5 separate regions of the Homo sapiens genome follow, and regions 1, 2, 4 and 5 are each linked to region 3. The links are contacts of gene promoters, found by promoter capture Hi-C in human tissues and cell types (Jung and others, 2019). All regions are on one chromosome and are shown on one strand. Each heading gives the region's core, a stretch centred on a gene start or on the middle of the fragment in contact. The rest is flanking DNA. Distances are from core to core; before and after follow the strand shown.

The links. The method cuts DNA at HindIII sites, captures the fragments that hold promoters and counts their contacts. A contact is called where the count stands out against the background at its distance.
Region 1: a fragment that was not itself captured here is called in contact with the fragment with the promoter of CALCOCO1 in region 3 in 1 of the 25 tissues and cell types used here (IMR-90 fibroblasts).
Region 2: a contact is called between a fragment that was not itself captured here and the fragment with the promoter of CALCOCO1 in region 3, in 2 of the 25 tissues and cell types used here (adrenal gland and dorsolateral prefrontal cortex).
Region 4: a fragment that was not itself captured here is called in contact with the fragment with the promoter of CALCOCO1 in region 3 in 2 of the 25 tissues and cell types used here (liver and mesenchymal stem cells).
Region 5: a contact is called between a fragment that was not itself captured here and the fragment with the promoter of CALCOCO1 in region 3, in 3 of the 25 tissues and cell types used here (IMR-90 fibroblasts, dorsolateral prefrontal cortex and lymphoblastoid cells).

What each region holds. Positions count from the first base shown.
Region 1 is chr12:53,516,856-53,519,555 of GRCh38, reverse strand. It overlaps ATF7-NPFF (ATF7-NPFF readthrough), which reads left to right. Exons shown (of 15, transcript NR_159377.1): 12 at 2,202-2,541. ATF7 (activating transcription factor 7) reads left to right here. Exons shown (of 12, transcript NM_006856.3): 12 at 2,202-2,700. The coding sequence ends at 2,419. It overlaps ATF7-AS1 (ATF7 antisense RNA 1), which reads right to left. Exons shown (of 3, transcript NR_046221.1): 3 at 1,948-2,700. Among named protein-coding and RNA genes, the nearest start is that of ATF7-AS1, 4.2 kb to the right of the region's middle. RefSeq lists an enhancer at 1,968-2,467. The HindIII fragment of the contact is 5,161 bases long and covers 1-2,700 here.
Region 2 is chr12:53,474,550-53,477,249 of GRCh38, reverse strand. All of the region lies in intron 14 of PCBP2 (poly(rC) binding protein 2), which reads right to left. Among named protein-coding and RNA genes, the nearest start is that of PCBP2-OT1, 11 kb to the right of the region's middle. The HindIII fragment of the contact is 4,559 bases long and covers 1-2,700 here.
Region 3 is chr12:53,726,122-53,728,821 of GRCh38, reverse strand. CALCOCO1 (calcium binding and coiled-coil domain 1) reads left to right here and starts at 1,370. Exons shown (of 15, transcript NM_020898.3): 1 at 1,370-1,418. LOC105369774 (a long non-coding RNA gene) reads right to left here and starts at 2,243. Exons shown (of 3, transcript XR_944973.3): 1 at 2,173-2,243. RefSeq lists enhancers at 1,218-1,277, 2,595-2,700. The HindIII fragment of the contact is 5,999 bases long and covers 1-2,700 here.
Region 4 is chr12:53,583,192-53,585,891 of GRCh38, reverse strand. All of the region lies in intron 2 of ATF7-NPFF (ATF7-NPFF readthrough), which reads left to right. The region is part of intron 2 of ATF7 (activating transcription factor 7); the gene reads left to right. It overlaps LOC124902937 (a long non-coding RNA gene), which reads right to left. Exons shown (of 3, transcript XR_007063316.1): 3 at 1-133. Among named protein-coding and RNA genes, the nearest start is that of ATF7, 42 kb to the left of the region's middle. The HindIII fragment of the contact is 4,179 bases long and covers 1-2,700 here.
Region 5 is chr12:53,562,499-53,565,198 of GRCh38, reverse strand. All of the region lies in intron 2 of ATF7-NPFF (ATF7-NPFF readthrough), which reads left to right. All of the region lies in intron 2 of ATF7 (activating transcription factor 7), which reads left to right. All of the region lies in intron 2 of LOC124902937 (a long non-coding RNA gene), which reads right to left. Among named protein-coding and RNA genes, the nearest start is that of ATF7-AS1, 50 kb to the right of the region's middle. The HindIII fragment of the contact is 4,567 bases long and covers 1-2,700 here.

The sequences.
Region 1 (2,700 bases), core at 180-2,679, 210 kb after region 3:
TCATTTTTGTATTTTTAGTAGAGACGGGGTTTCACCATGTTCCCCAGGCTAGTCTCCAATTCTTGGCTTCATGTGATCTGCCCACCTCTGTCTCCCAAAGTGCTAGGATTACAGGTGTGAGCCACCGCACCCGGCCTTACATATTCATTATAGCAAAGATGTATTTAGTTCCTGCTGTGTGGTATAGATATTATGTAAGTACCTGACACATGATGAATAAGACACTGTCACTACCTCTGAGAGAATCATAGGGTCATATAAACCTGTGGATGAGGTAAGGATAGATATCCCAGTTAAAAAGCCCCTAAACTGGGAGCTTCCTAAGGATAGGGTTCCCGTTTTCTTCTCTGTGTACCCATGCCTGGTACATGGATGATGCTCAGTAAAATGTTTGATGAATATATGCTGTGAAAACACAAAGAATAAAACAGTTAATGTACTGAGGGTAACAAAGATGGCTTCACAGAGGACGCAATATTTGAATCTTTTTTTTTTTTTTTTTGAGACGGAGTCTCGCTCTGTTGCCCAGGCTGGAGTGCAGTGGCACAATCTCGGCTCACTGCAAGCTCTGCCTCCCGGGTTCACACCATTCTCCTGCCTCAGTCTCCCAAGTAGCTGGGACAACAGGCGCCCGCCACCATGCCCAGCTAATTTTTTGGTTTTTTTTTTTTTTGAGTAGAGACGGGGTTTCACCATGTTAGCCAGGGTAGTCTCGATCTCCTGACCTCCTGATCCGCCCAGCTTGGCCTCTGAAAGTGCTGGGATTACAGGCGTGAGCCACTGCGCCCGGCCATATTTGAATCTTAAAAGAAGACTCAGGCATTCATCAGGATGTCAGAAATACAACTGACTATGGAACGTTTGCCTTTTTTCCACATATTTCTGTTTAAGCAGCCATAGAGGCTATCCGATGTTTAATAAAACTCCTTGACTTGCTGAGTGTGATGACTCATACCTGTAATCCCGGCAATTTGGGAGTCTGAAGCAGGAGGATGGCTTGAGGCCAGCAGTTGAAGGCTGCTGTGAGCTGTGATTGTGCCATGGCACCTCCAGCCTGGGTGACAGAGTGAGACCCTCTAAAAAAATTTTAAAAACATTTGACTAATGAGCAACATGGAGTTACCATTGTATGTAGCTCAGGTAGTTGTGTTTAGTAGTAAAATGTTAGTGTCACTTTAGGTGGAGTGGCATAACTTATAATGTTTTATAATCATTAATGCCTAGCTAATTTTTAGTCAGGAGGGTCTTAAGATTTCTTTGTAGTTTTACATGTTAACTGAACCCGGGCCAGGGACTGGCCATTCATAATATCATTTAATTATAGCTTGATATCTATCAGACTTACCTGTGGTACAACTACATGGTAAAGGAACATTAAAAATAATGGAATAGGCCTGCCACAGTGGCTCACGCCTATAATCCCAGCACTTTGGGAGGCCAAGGCAGGCCAATCACTTGAGGTCAGGAGTTTGAGACCAGCCTAGCTAACGTGGCAAAACCCCATCTCTACTAAAAATTCAAAAATTAGCCAGGTGTGGCAGTGTGCACCTGTAGTCCCAGCTACTCGGAAGGCTGAGGCACGAGAATCACTTGAACCTGGATGGCAGAGGTTGCAATGAGCTGAGATTGCACCACTGCACTCCAGCCTGGGCAACAGAGCAAGACTCAGTCTTAGGAAAAAAAATAAATAAATAAAATAATGGAATAATTCAGTTCCTGTGAGAATTAATCAAAGAGGATGGCTAAAAAGAGATCTATTTTAAATCATCTTTAAAGAAATGAAGGCCAGGCGCAGTGGCTCATGCCTATAATCCCAGCACTTTGAGAGGCCAAGGCAGGAGGATCACTTGAGACCCTATCTCTTAAAAACAAGAAAGAATAGAAGTAATGAATAATAATAAGAGTTGGTAATGAACTATGCAAAGACCTAGAAACCAGACAGTGTAATTAACATGTTGGAGATTCATTTTATTGGAATAGATAGGTTAATTTTGGCCTAGTTCTTCCCTTCTTACAACTTCCCATTTCCTAGCCCATTTATGACTTAGAAGCCAGGATTCTGGGAAGTTTTCCCCAAAAAAAAGATGGGTTTCATTTCCCTTTTGGGCTCCTTTAGAATTATGGCAAAAGGTAGTCCTGCCTCTTTCCCCATTCTGTTTTCTAACCAATTGCTCTCTGCTCTTTGCCCTCCTTCCTGGCAGAAAGCCCCAAGGAAAGCTCAGAGCCAACGGGTTCTCCAGCCCCTGTGATTCAGCACAGCTCAGCAACAGCCCCTAGCAATGGCCTCAGTGTTCGCTCTGCAGCTGAAGCTGTGGCCACCTCGGTCCTCACTCAGATGGCCAGCCAAAGGACAGAACTGAGCATGCCGATACAATCGCATGTAATCATGACCCCACAGTCCCAGTCTGCGGGCAGATGATGCCTCCTCTGGTGGAGAGGTCCTCAGCCAGAGCTCGCCCGCCCAAGAGCCAAGAGAGATGTCATCTTATCCCCTCCCATCTGCCTTGGACATGGCAATATGGGTGGGGGGAATTGTGTGTTGTGAGTAATGGACAGATATGGGGCTTTTTAGCCATGTGGTCATGTACGTTTGACACCTGTGCTGGGGGCCTCCCAGCCCCGGAGCCTCATAGATCATCCCCCAGGGTGGGGTTTCTGATGCATCCACAGCCAAAGGCCTTTCCAGATGGTCCGAACAAT
Region 2 (2,700 bases), core at 25-2,524, 250 kb after region 3:
ACCATTAGATCTAGGACCTGAAAATTTAAGTTCATAAAAATTGGTGGTAGCACTCTGGCCCCACCAGAGCTCTGAAAGAAATGTTCTGAATGTGTATCAAGCCCGAATGGGGATTTGCTGGGGTGGGGGAGGTGACGCAGGGAGAAGGGGATGCTATGAAATACTGAGTCAGGTACTCTAGGATAAAAGACCACATGGGGGAGCTCTAGGGTTTAAAAAAATTTAAAACTGAGGCCCTTTGGAGGTAGTGATGGTAGCTAGACCCTTAAACATGTGGAATCCTTCCTTGGGGAATAGCCATTAGGTTAAGAGGCCTTCCAATCAAGAACTAGATAAAACCACATCCCTGGGGGGAGATGGTATCAGCATGATTAAGTCCTAACTACAGGAGGAGCAAGCTTACCAAGGGAGAGAGCTGGACCACATGATAAAGGAGCAACTAAATAAAACTCCTTACTGGACAGGTTTGGCCATCTAATCCTTTATGCATACTTGAGACGTGTAACACTTCTTCACAGGCCCAATCTGGGATGGAGGGGCCAAAATAACATCAAAGAATGAGATAATATATTGGAATACTAACAGCTTTTTTTTTTTTGTCAGCCAATGGTGATGCTGGGAAAAGGTCATCAGGGAAACTATCTCTACACTGAGTTCTCTAATGCCCTGGGAAGAGCATTACACTTTCAGCACTGTGGCAACGTGTACTCTCGTTGAATGGAAGGCTATCAGAGGCCTTATACCACCATACTAAGAACATTTCTACTGTTTTATGAGAGGCCTGTGCCCATCTTAGTATAAGAAAATGAACAAGATTTCAGGGAGGTTAGTACGATTGAGTAAAAGTAAAGCTTAAGTTGTTAGTCCTGGCTAGTCACTCATAACCTATGAATTTAAATTATCTTAGGGCCTCTATTTTTTAATCTGTAAAATGAGGGGATCAATGTGTTACAGATTAGTTGATCCTTAAGGTTCCTTCCAAATCTAAGCATGTCACTTCCTACTCCTGATAGTGCTGGTGGGGAGCAGAAAGGATACGGCCAGGAATAGAAAAAAGGGTAAAGAAACTTGGTTGACAGAGTTGGTTTAGGACTAGTGGATGGCATCATGTCAAGTTGTGGATAATGTCACGGGTTGGCTGAGATATACCTAATGTCACAGAAAGAGGCATAATGCTAATTCAGAGGAATGCAGACAGAAGCTGCCTAATTTTATTAGACTTATCCCACTTTGCCCCTCCCCTTCATTCTGGGTAAAGAAGTATGTTCTTTGAATGTATGACTTGGAAGAGATCCTCATGGTAACCATTCACCAGAGGAATCCTGGGATGAACACCTTGTTAGCTGCTGCTGGCAAGGTAAGGCCATCTGAGAAGTCAGATAAACTTCCTCACTAGTGAAGCTTGTTGCCAATTACAGAGGACCTTCAGGATCTAAACTGCCACAGACTCGTTATCTCTTTGTGGAAATATTGACAAACGACTATAAAATTCACTTGGGATTCAAAAAGCCCATGTCAGTTATACAGGCTTCCTAGCTGAATAGCCACAAGTCACAAGCCCCCAACCCTTTACCCTTCACAGCACACAGTGTACTAAGGTTCTTACTGCGCCAACTTTATTACAGCTAGAAACACAAATATGGCCAAGAAGGCCTGCTGATAGCTTAACCATTAAATAATTCTTAAAAAAAAAAAAAAAAGTTAACGAAGCAGCTTTTATTCATTAACACAGAGCCTAACACATTGTTATATTGCAAGGCAGAATAAAGCTACAAAGAAAAGTAACAAACAAGAAAGAAGAGAAAACTGTGGCTCTAGATAAAGAATTCAAGTCAGACCCTGAAACAGGCACTCAGCTGAAATGGCCTAAACCTAAACAAGGGTTACCACTCCCCCACCCCCACCCAGTTATCCCCCAAAGTAGTAAAAAGGAAACGGTAACAAGCTCACAATAGTTTCATTCTCACCAATGTTAACAAAGGAAAACAAAATGAACAAAATAATACTGGAGGAGGTGCCTCAAGGTATGCAATCAGTAGGGAGAGAATCTCTGTTTCTCGCCTTTCAGTTTGTTAGTTACACATGGCACGGCAGAGGTGGTGGTGGTGGTAGCTGAAGCCCCGGTACCCTTAGCAGCAGACACAACATTTAGAGCCAGGAGAGGGATGGGTTTCATGCCAAGCAGACTGGAGACACAAGGGGCGGTCGGAAGAGGGTTGGGGAGGCTGGAGGGTGCGTCGGAGGTCCCCGCTGTGGCGAGCGAGGGGGTGGTGGTGGAGGAGGAAGAAGAAGAAGGGGTGGAGGGTTGAGAGAGGTTGATGCTGAGGTGATCAGGGATCGTGACGGAGGCTGCCTGGGAGGAGGGTTTAGCGTTTTCTAAACTGTAACAGAGGAAAAAAGGAACAAAAAAAAAGGGTGGGTGGAAGGGAAGACCACAAAAGGGAGTAAGTACAGGACAAAAACTGCTTCAGTTATATCAGTAAGTGCCTCTGGTTGACAATTAGGAAGACCTAGTGTCAACTTGTGACAAGCTTTCTTTTAGCCTATGTCCCACCCTCTAAATATGTATATTTCCATTCCACAGAGCTACTTAAAAACTGCTATGGTGAAGAAAAAGCTGACAGAGAAAAGAAATCATAGGGCACATACTTCATGTATCTGACACACTGACCCAACCCAGATGTTGAAGGAATGATTTCG
Region 3 (2,700 bases), core at 121-2,620:
GCTACCTCCTCATCCAGAAACTGGTTCCCTAACTCATAAATCCTGACTAATGACACAGACACATCACCTTAATGTTTGTGCAGCCCAGTAACTAATTTTTAAGTGCCTGGAGATCTTCAGATGAAAGACACTGAGGGCAGACACCGCATTCAGTCATAAAAGCAAAACACTACCAAAAAACTTGGAAAAGGCAGAAGCTCCATAACTTAGTGCAGTAGAGAATTAAAGCAGGCACCTAGGAAGAGGAAATCAATCCTTAAGACTGTAATCCTTTAATGCAGAGCCAGAGAAAGAGGTAATTCTGAATGCCTCCGACTACAGGGATGGAGAATAGCGAGAGGGGGGACAGGATGCCCAAGTCTATAACGTGACTTGGGGTGTGGGAGACGTGTCAATCTTTCACCTCTCCTAAATAAAAACCGGAACGTCAACATGTATTGTTATCCTAATTAATTTAAGCCACTTAAAAGGCTTGGGCAAACAGGCCCCATAAGTGGCTTGTTTGTGAATTGTGACAGGTCCTGAATTATGCCAAGCTCCCTTTTCAATTTCATTCTTCTCATTCCACCGCTCCTACCACCACCTCAGTCAATTGTATCCTCTTCCTAGACCCAGAAGCCACTCTGGGGGAGCCCAGTCCAGATGTGGATATGGTCAGGCCCCTTAGCACTGAAATCCTCAAGTTGGAAAAAAATGGTCAGCTGTGCAGAAGACATCATTCTTACAAGGTCTGTCCCTGAGATTGAAGTAAAGAAGAAACTGCTATACCCCAGCTATCAGTTTCCCATCCCCAAAATGGTGGGTAGCTGTGGTGTAGTGGCAAGAATATATGACGTGGAATTAGCCAAGGCTAATGCAGTTCTACATTTCATAGCTTTGACACTTCACACCGCCTCCTTAACCGTACTTCACTTTCTACATCTATAAAGCGTGCATAACGCTTAACGCCTATCTCACAGGTGGGTGCGAAAAGTACAGGACGGGACGCAACAGAAACCGCTCTGCCCACCGTTAAAGCGTTATATGGAAGGCTTTAGAGCCGTAAATCCTCCCCAGCCCCCAACAACGCACGTTACAAACCAGCAGCCACCCCTAATGCAGCCGGCCCCCTCCTAAGGGATCATGGGCCTTGAAGTCCTTTGCTGGCCACACCCTCGTTTTCTGTCATAGGAGTGAGAACTACGCCTCCCAGGATGCCGCGGTGAGGCCGCCGTCACGGACGCCCTCTTCCCCGCCCTCCTTGCGCGCAGCCTTCTGGGATGTATAGTCCTAGATCCGAGCACGCAGCGGCAAAAGGGCGCAGAAGAACCACAAACCCCAGAAGCCCTCGCGCCCACTCTTCTCCCTCCCCTCCAGAAGTCGGAGTGCTGTTTTTGTTGTTGGTGAAAGGTGAGGGGAACAGCTGATCCGTCTGTTGGGTAAGAAACTTGGCCTAATTGGGGGCGATCTTATGGGAGGGGAGGGTCACCCCACTTTCCAGTTTGGGGAAGGATAACGTAAGGGAACTGTCGAAGGGGAATACAGGAGCGTTTGGGTTGTAACCCTTTCCGTACTGGAGAAGCCACCCCCGCTGTTTGGGGAGTTCTTGGTTTCAAGGGGACTCTGATTGGGGGTGGGGGGCGCCCCCTCGTCGTCCTCTCCTTCTTCTCAATGCGTCTCTATAAAGCTGATCCCTTCAAGGGAGCTGAAATCTGCTTATTCGCTCCCAGGCAAGACGTGTCCCCTACACGTCTTCCCTCTCTCCCCTACGCAAATCCAAAGGCCTTTACGACGCTGAATCCCTGGGGAGGAAGGGGGACCTTCCAAGGTGTAGAATGTCAAGGAACTCTAGAGCCCTACAGAGTAGGGGATGGGACACCCGCTCTCCGCCCCATCATGTGAACATCTGAATCAGGCTACACACCTACATCTTAGGTGCCCAAAACTTTCTTTCGGACATGAAGAACGTTTACAGCTGTTACGGATTTTCTTTGTGGGGTGTATTTTAGGGTTCTCCAGGTATATCTTTGGGGACAATTTACCCCCACCCTTAGAAAGCTGGAAGAATTGCATTTGGAGAAAACATGGATTAGTTTCAACCAGGAATTTTTCAGGGAGATGAACATTAAAAAAAACTTTTTGTTCTACCTATTTGGGGGACAGAAGTTGCTCCTTTTTGTGTTGCTGGCTCACCTTTATCCACTGAGTTTCTGTTTTCTTTTAAAGTTCCTGTCCCCTGGACTTCAGCCTGGTGTGGGTTTGTGATGTTTGGGGGCGTGCATATGACTAGTGACAATGGCTGGTTGGACATGTCAGCTGTGAGTGACACAGGAAATAGATTAGTGGGCTGGAAAGGAGTGATGAATAAGAGGGCCATCTCACAGCCCTGGACTGAGGAGTTCTTTTGATCGTTATTATTGTTATCTGTCCTCACCCCACCCTCATATTTTCCAATTAACTCTCCCCAGCTAACTTGGAACACCCCTTCCTCTCAACCCCATCCTGTAGTGTGTCTCCAGCTACCAATACAAACAGATGGAAGGATGGAGGCTGAGGGGAGCAGAGAGAAAATGAGGAGAGAAATACTAAAGTGAAACCAGTAGGTTTCTAGTCCTGCTGCAGGCACAGTCTGGAGAGAAGAATGTTAGGTTCTTTTTGAACTATCTCCCCTTTCCTCAACGTTAAATATACATTTCCACTTCTTGGGGCCCCTTACTTCCC
Region 4 (2,700 bases), core at 73-2,572, 140 kb after region 3:
TAGACAGTAATCGGCTTGTCAGAGTGGAGTGGCTTTTTGTTTTTCCTTTATCTAGTAGAATGGAGTGGGCTAAGCCTTTCTGGGAAGCAATTTCTTCCTCCACCGCATGAACAGAAGGTCATGGATACTGTCTCTGAAACAAAGGGGAGGTAGTGATAGAAAAATCAGTGTCTGGGGCATAATTGGATTGAAGCTCTGTCAAGGAGACACCAGTTCCTGCTTGGAAGCTGGACTTTCTGCTATGCTTTGGTTTTCTGTCTTTTCTGAGCACTGTATGAGAATGAATATGCAAGAAGCTATTCACATTTACTTAGTGGTTTTCAGTCTTTTCTTTTTTCATTTATGCTCTTCCTTTGCTTTTTTTTAAATTAAGAAACTATTTTTTTTAGAGCAGTTTTAGATTCACAGCAAAATTGAGTGAAAAGTGCAGAGGATTCTCATATACCTCCTGTCCTCACACACACTAGCCTCCCCCACTGTCAACATACTGAACCACAATGCTAATTTGTTACATTCAATGAACCTGCATTGACATATTATCACCCAAGTCCATAGTTTATATTAGAATTCACTCTTGGTATTACAAATTCTGTAGGTTTTAACAAATATATAATGAGGCCGGGCACAGTGGTTCATGCCTGTAATCTCAACACTTTGGGAAGCCGAGGCAGGAGGATTGCTGGAGCCCAGGAGTTCAAGACCAGCCTAGGCAACATAGTGAGACCCCATCCTTACAAAAAAAAAATTAAAAATTAGCCAGGTGTGGTAATGTGCACCTGTAGTCCCAGCTATTCAGGAGGCTGAGGTGGGAGGACTGCTTGAGCCCGGGAGGTCAAGGCTGCAGTGAGCCATGATTGTGCCACTGCACACCAGCCTGGGCAACAGAGTGAACTCCTGTCAAATCAATATATAAAATGACACGTATCCACCATTGTAGTATCATACAGAATAGTTTCACTGTCCTAAATATCCTCTGTGCTCTGCCTGTTCATCCCTCACTTCCCACTGACCGCTGGCAAGCACTGATCTTGCCAAAACTACTGTCTCCGTAGTTTTGCCGTCTACAGAATGTTGTTTAGTTGGAATCATACAATATAAGGCCGTTTCATACTAGCTTCTTTCATTTAGTAATATGCATTTAAGTTTCTTCCTTATCTTTTCATGGCTTGATACCTTATTTCTTTTTAGTGCTGAGTAATATTCCATTGTCTGAATGTACCACAATTTATCCATTCACCTGCTGAAGGACATCTTCATTGCTTCCGAGATTTGGCAATTATGAGTAAAGAAAGCTGCTATATAAATATCCATGTGCAGGCTTTTGTGTGGACATAAGTTTTCTGTTCATTTGGGTAAATATCAATGAGTGTGATCACTGGATCATATGGTAATACTATGTTTATGGTAAGACTATGTTTAGTTTTGTAAGAAACTGTCAAACTGTCTTCCAAAGTGGCTATATTATTTAGCATTCCCACCAAAAATGAATGAGAGTTCTTGTTGCTCCACATCCTTATCAACATTTAATGTTGTCAGTGTTTTGGATTTTGGCCACTCTAATAGGTGTGTAATGGATTTTGTTGTTTTAATTTGCATTAAACAACAATTTAATGCCTGCCGGGTGGCTCACACCTGTAATCCCTGCATTTTGGAAGGCCAAGGCGGGTGGATCACCTGAGGTCAGGAGTTCGAGAAGAGCCTGGCCAATATGATGAAACCCCCGTCTCTCCTAAAAATACAAAAATTAGCTGGGCGTGGTGGCAAGTGCCTGTAGTCCCAGCTACTCAGGAGGCTGAAGCCAGGAGAATCGCTTGAACTTGGGAGGCGGAGGTTGCAGTGAGCCAAGATCACGCCACTGTACTCCAGCCTGGGTGACAGAGTGAGAGTCTGTCTCAAAAAATAATACTAATAACAATTATCTGTATTTGTATTTCCCTGATGGCATGATGTTGAGCATGCTTATTTGCCATCTGTATTTTTCTTTGGTGAAGTGTCTGACTAAAGTCCGTTGCCCATTTTTTAATCAGGTTGTTCATTTTCTTACTGTTCAGTTTTAAGAGTTCTTTGTGTATTTTGTATGACAGTCCTTTATCAGGTGTATCTTTTACATTCTCTCCCATTCTGTAGCTTGTCTTTACATTTTCTTGACATTGTCTTTCACAGAGCAGATATTTCTAATTTTAGCACAGTCCAGCTTATCAATTACTTAGTTCATGGATCATGACTTTGGTGTTGTATTTAAAAAGTCATCGCCATACAAAAGTCATCTAGGTCAGTGGTCCCCCACCTTTTTGACACCAGGGACTGGTTTCCTGGAAGAATTTTTTTCATGGACTGGGGGTGGGGGGGATTCAAGCAAATTACATTTATTGTGTACTTTATTTATAGTATTATTAAATTATAATATAATAGTGAAATAATTATACAACTCACCATAATGTAGAATCAGTGGGAGCCCTGAGCTTGTTTTCCTGCAACTAGATGGTCCCATCTGGGGGTGATGGGAGATAGTGACAGATCATCAGGCATTAGATTCTCATAAGGGGCATACAACCTAGATCCCTCACATACACAGTTCACAGTAGGGTTGGGACTCCTTTGAGAATCTAATGCTGCGACTGATCTGACAGAAGGCAGAGTTCTGGCTGTAATGCAAGTGATGGGGAGTGGCTGTAAATACAGATGAAGCTTCACTCACTT
Region 5 (2,700 bases), core at 155-2,654, 160 kb after region 3:
TTTCCTTTTTGCTGTGATTTATTGGGCACCTGCAACTTACTTGGCAGAAGACTTGACCCATGGGGCTCATGAATTTTCACATTTGTCAGGAGGAAGGAACAAGGAACCAAAATAGAAGCAAGTATTGCAGTATGGCTGAGGGCTTAAAACTTAGGTACTTAGAGGAATAGTTATACCATTGGTCTGTATAATGTAAAACAGAGGTGTACAATCTTTTGGCTTCCCTGGGCCACATTGGAAGAAGAATTGTCTTGGGCCACACATAAAAATATACTAACGCCAACAATAGCTGATGAACTAAACAAAAAAAAAATCGCCAAAAAATCTGATAATGTTTTAAGAAAGCTTACGAATTTATGTTGGGCCATGTTGAAAGCCATTCCGGGCTGCATGTGGTCTGCAGGCCAAAGGTTGGACAAGTTTGATGTAGAATAATAATGCATTGCTATTAAACCCAGATCATAACGATGAAGACCCAACAACTCAGTGTTGACTATGGGTTTAAAATTCTTTTTCTGTTCCCCTCTAACTAGCTTGTTGATTTAATTGTAACATACTTTTCCTTTTGTCAGATACTGGAGTGTACGATTTTTTAAAGGAGGAATCCAGTTCTTGACACTGTTTGACACCTATGAGATGCTCATATGCTCATATTCTGCCTGTAAAATTCAAATAATTGAGATCTTAAAAGAAAATGCTCAAAAGGATGTGGTTAAAATTACCACTAGTGGTTTGGGGATTGAAGAAGGAACTTAAAAGGGAATGGCTTGTAAATTCACATTTTTTTGCACAAGGTATTTTAGTTGAGTTTAGTTTATATTTTGAAACAGAGTCTTGCTCTGTCGCCCAGGCTGGAATGCAGTTGTGTGATCTCAGCTCACTGCACCCTCCACTTCCTGGGTTCAGGTGATTCTTGTGCCTCAGCCACCCAAGTAACTGGGATTATCAGGCATGCACCACCATGTCCAGCTAATTTTTATATTTTTAGTAGAGACAGGGTTTTGCCATGTTGGCCAGGCTGGTCTCAAACGCCTAGCCTCAAGTGATCTGCCCACCTCAGCCTCCCAAAGTGCTGGATTACAGGCATAAGCCACTGTATCTGGCCTCACAGGACATTTTAATTGGTAATAAAATTCAGTGCTGGAATCAGATACCCTAAGAAAGTGAATTGACCCACAAAGACCATGGCACCAGTGTCCTTTCATACAACAGCAGTATAACTCTAGCATACTGTAATTGTCTTAGGTGCCTTTCTGTAATAAAGGGAATCTGGTATCAAAAAAAGTAGGCAAGAGGATACACTAATTCTCACTGATTTGAACAGTGAAATTTACTTTGCAAATGGAGTTGGAAAGCCATCAGATCTTTCTGAAAGTGTGCCATGTTAAGGTCTGAGAATCCAAGAGTGATAAAGCTTTTCAACAGTTACTCTTATGTCACTATATAAAACTTTACCCAATCACTGAAGCAATAATTTATTGAGTGCCAAACTGGGCAAGCCCAGAGGTGGGGCAGGTGAAAAGGATAAAAAATAAGTGTGAGACATGTTTTTAACCCTCTAGTAGTTTACAGTCTACTTTGTTTGAGACATCCTTGTTCTGTTGCCCAGGCTGGAGTGCGATGGCACAATCTTGGCTCACTGCAACCTCTGCCTCCAGTTCAAGTGATCCCTCCCACCTCAGCCTTCCTAGTTGGGACTACAGGCACACACCACCACACCTGGCTAATTTTTTTTTTTTCTTTTCGGTAGAGGTGGGGTTTCACCTTGTTGCCCAGACTGGTCTCAAACTCTTGGGGTCAAGCAATTCTCCCGCCTCAGCCTCCCAGAGTGCTGGGATTACAGGTGTGAGCCACTGCGCCTGCCCATACAGTCTACTTTAAAAAGATAAAAATTGTGAGACCATATAGACTAAAATTCTATATGTATAATTATATAAATAAATTTCCATTTGAATACTATACAAGTTCAAGAAAGATAGATCACTGAAGATTGGAGTCATTAGAGAAGCTTTCAAAAAGCTATTGGATTTCAGCTGGGCCTAGAAAAATGGTAGTATTCCAGTAAACAATGGAGAGAGGAACACATTTCAAGGAATATGGGAATGTGTGTGGAGGCACAAAATTGAAAATAAATAGACTTCGCAGATCAGTAAGAGACTGACCTGGGTAGAAAGTGTTAGTAGAAGAATAGCAGAAAATAAAATCATAAACAAGGACAAGAGGACAGAAAGGTAATGTATTTTACATTCCTTTAAAATCTCCTTTGGGAATGATTTCAAACCCACCCCACCCCCAAGAGTCAAATCCTTCCTAATGATTTAAATCCCCATTGCTGCCATTTTGTCTTTTTCCTGTGGTTACAATTTTTGAAATTCTATTTGTTTCTTACTCTGATCTTCTTGCATCCTTGCATTAGGGTATTCTTGGTCCTGACTGGGCCCAGCCTCTGGTTCCGTAGGAAAAAGCTGGTGTTTAAGATAGATACCAACTCTCCTTTTGGATATGGATGATGAAAATTGTCCCACCATTGCACACATGGGCAAAAAAAAATTTTTTTTTTTTTGAGATGAAGTTTCGCTCTTGTCCCCCAGGCTGGAGTGCAGTGGCACAATCTCGGCTCACCGGCCTTCTGGGTTCAAGTGATTCTCCTGCCTCAGCCTCCCGAGTAGCTGGGATTACAGGTGCGTACCACCACACCCA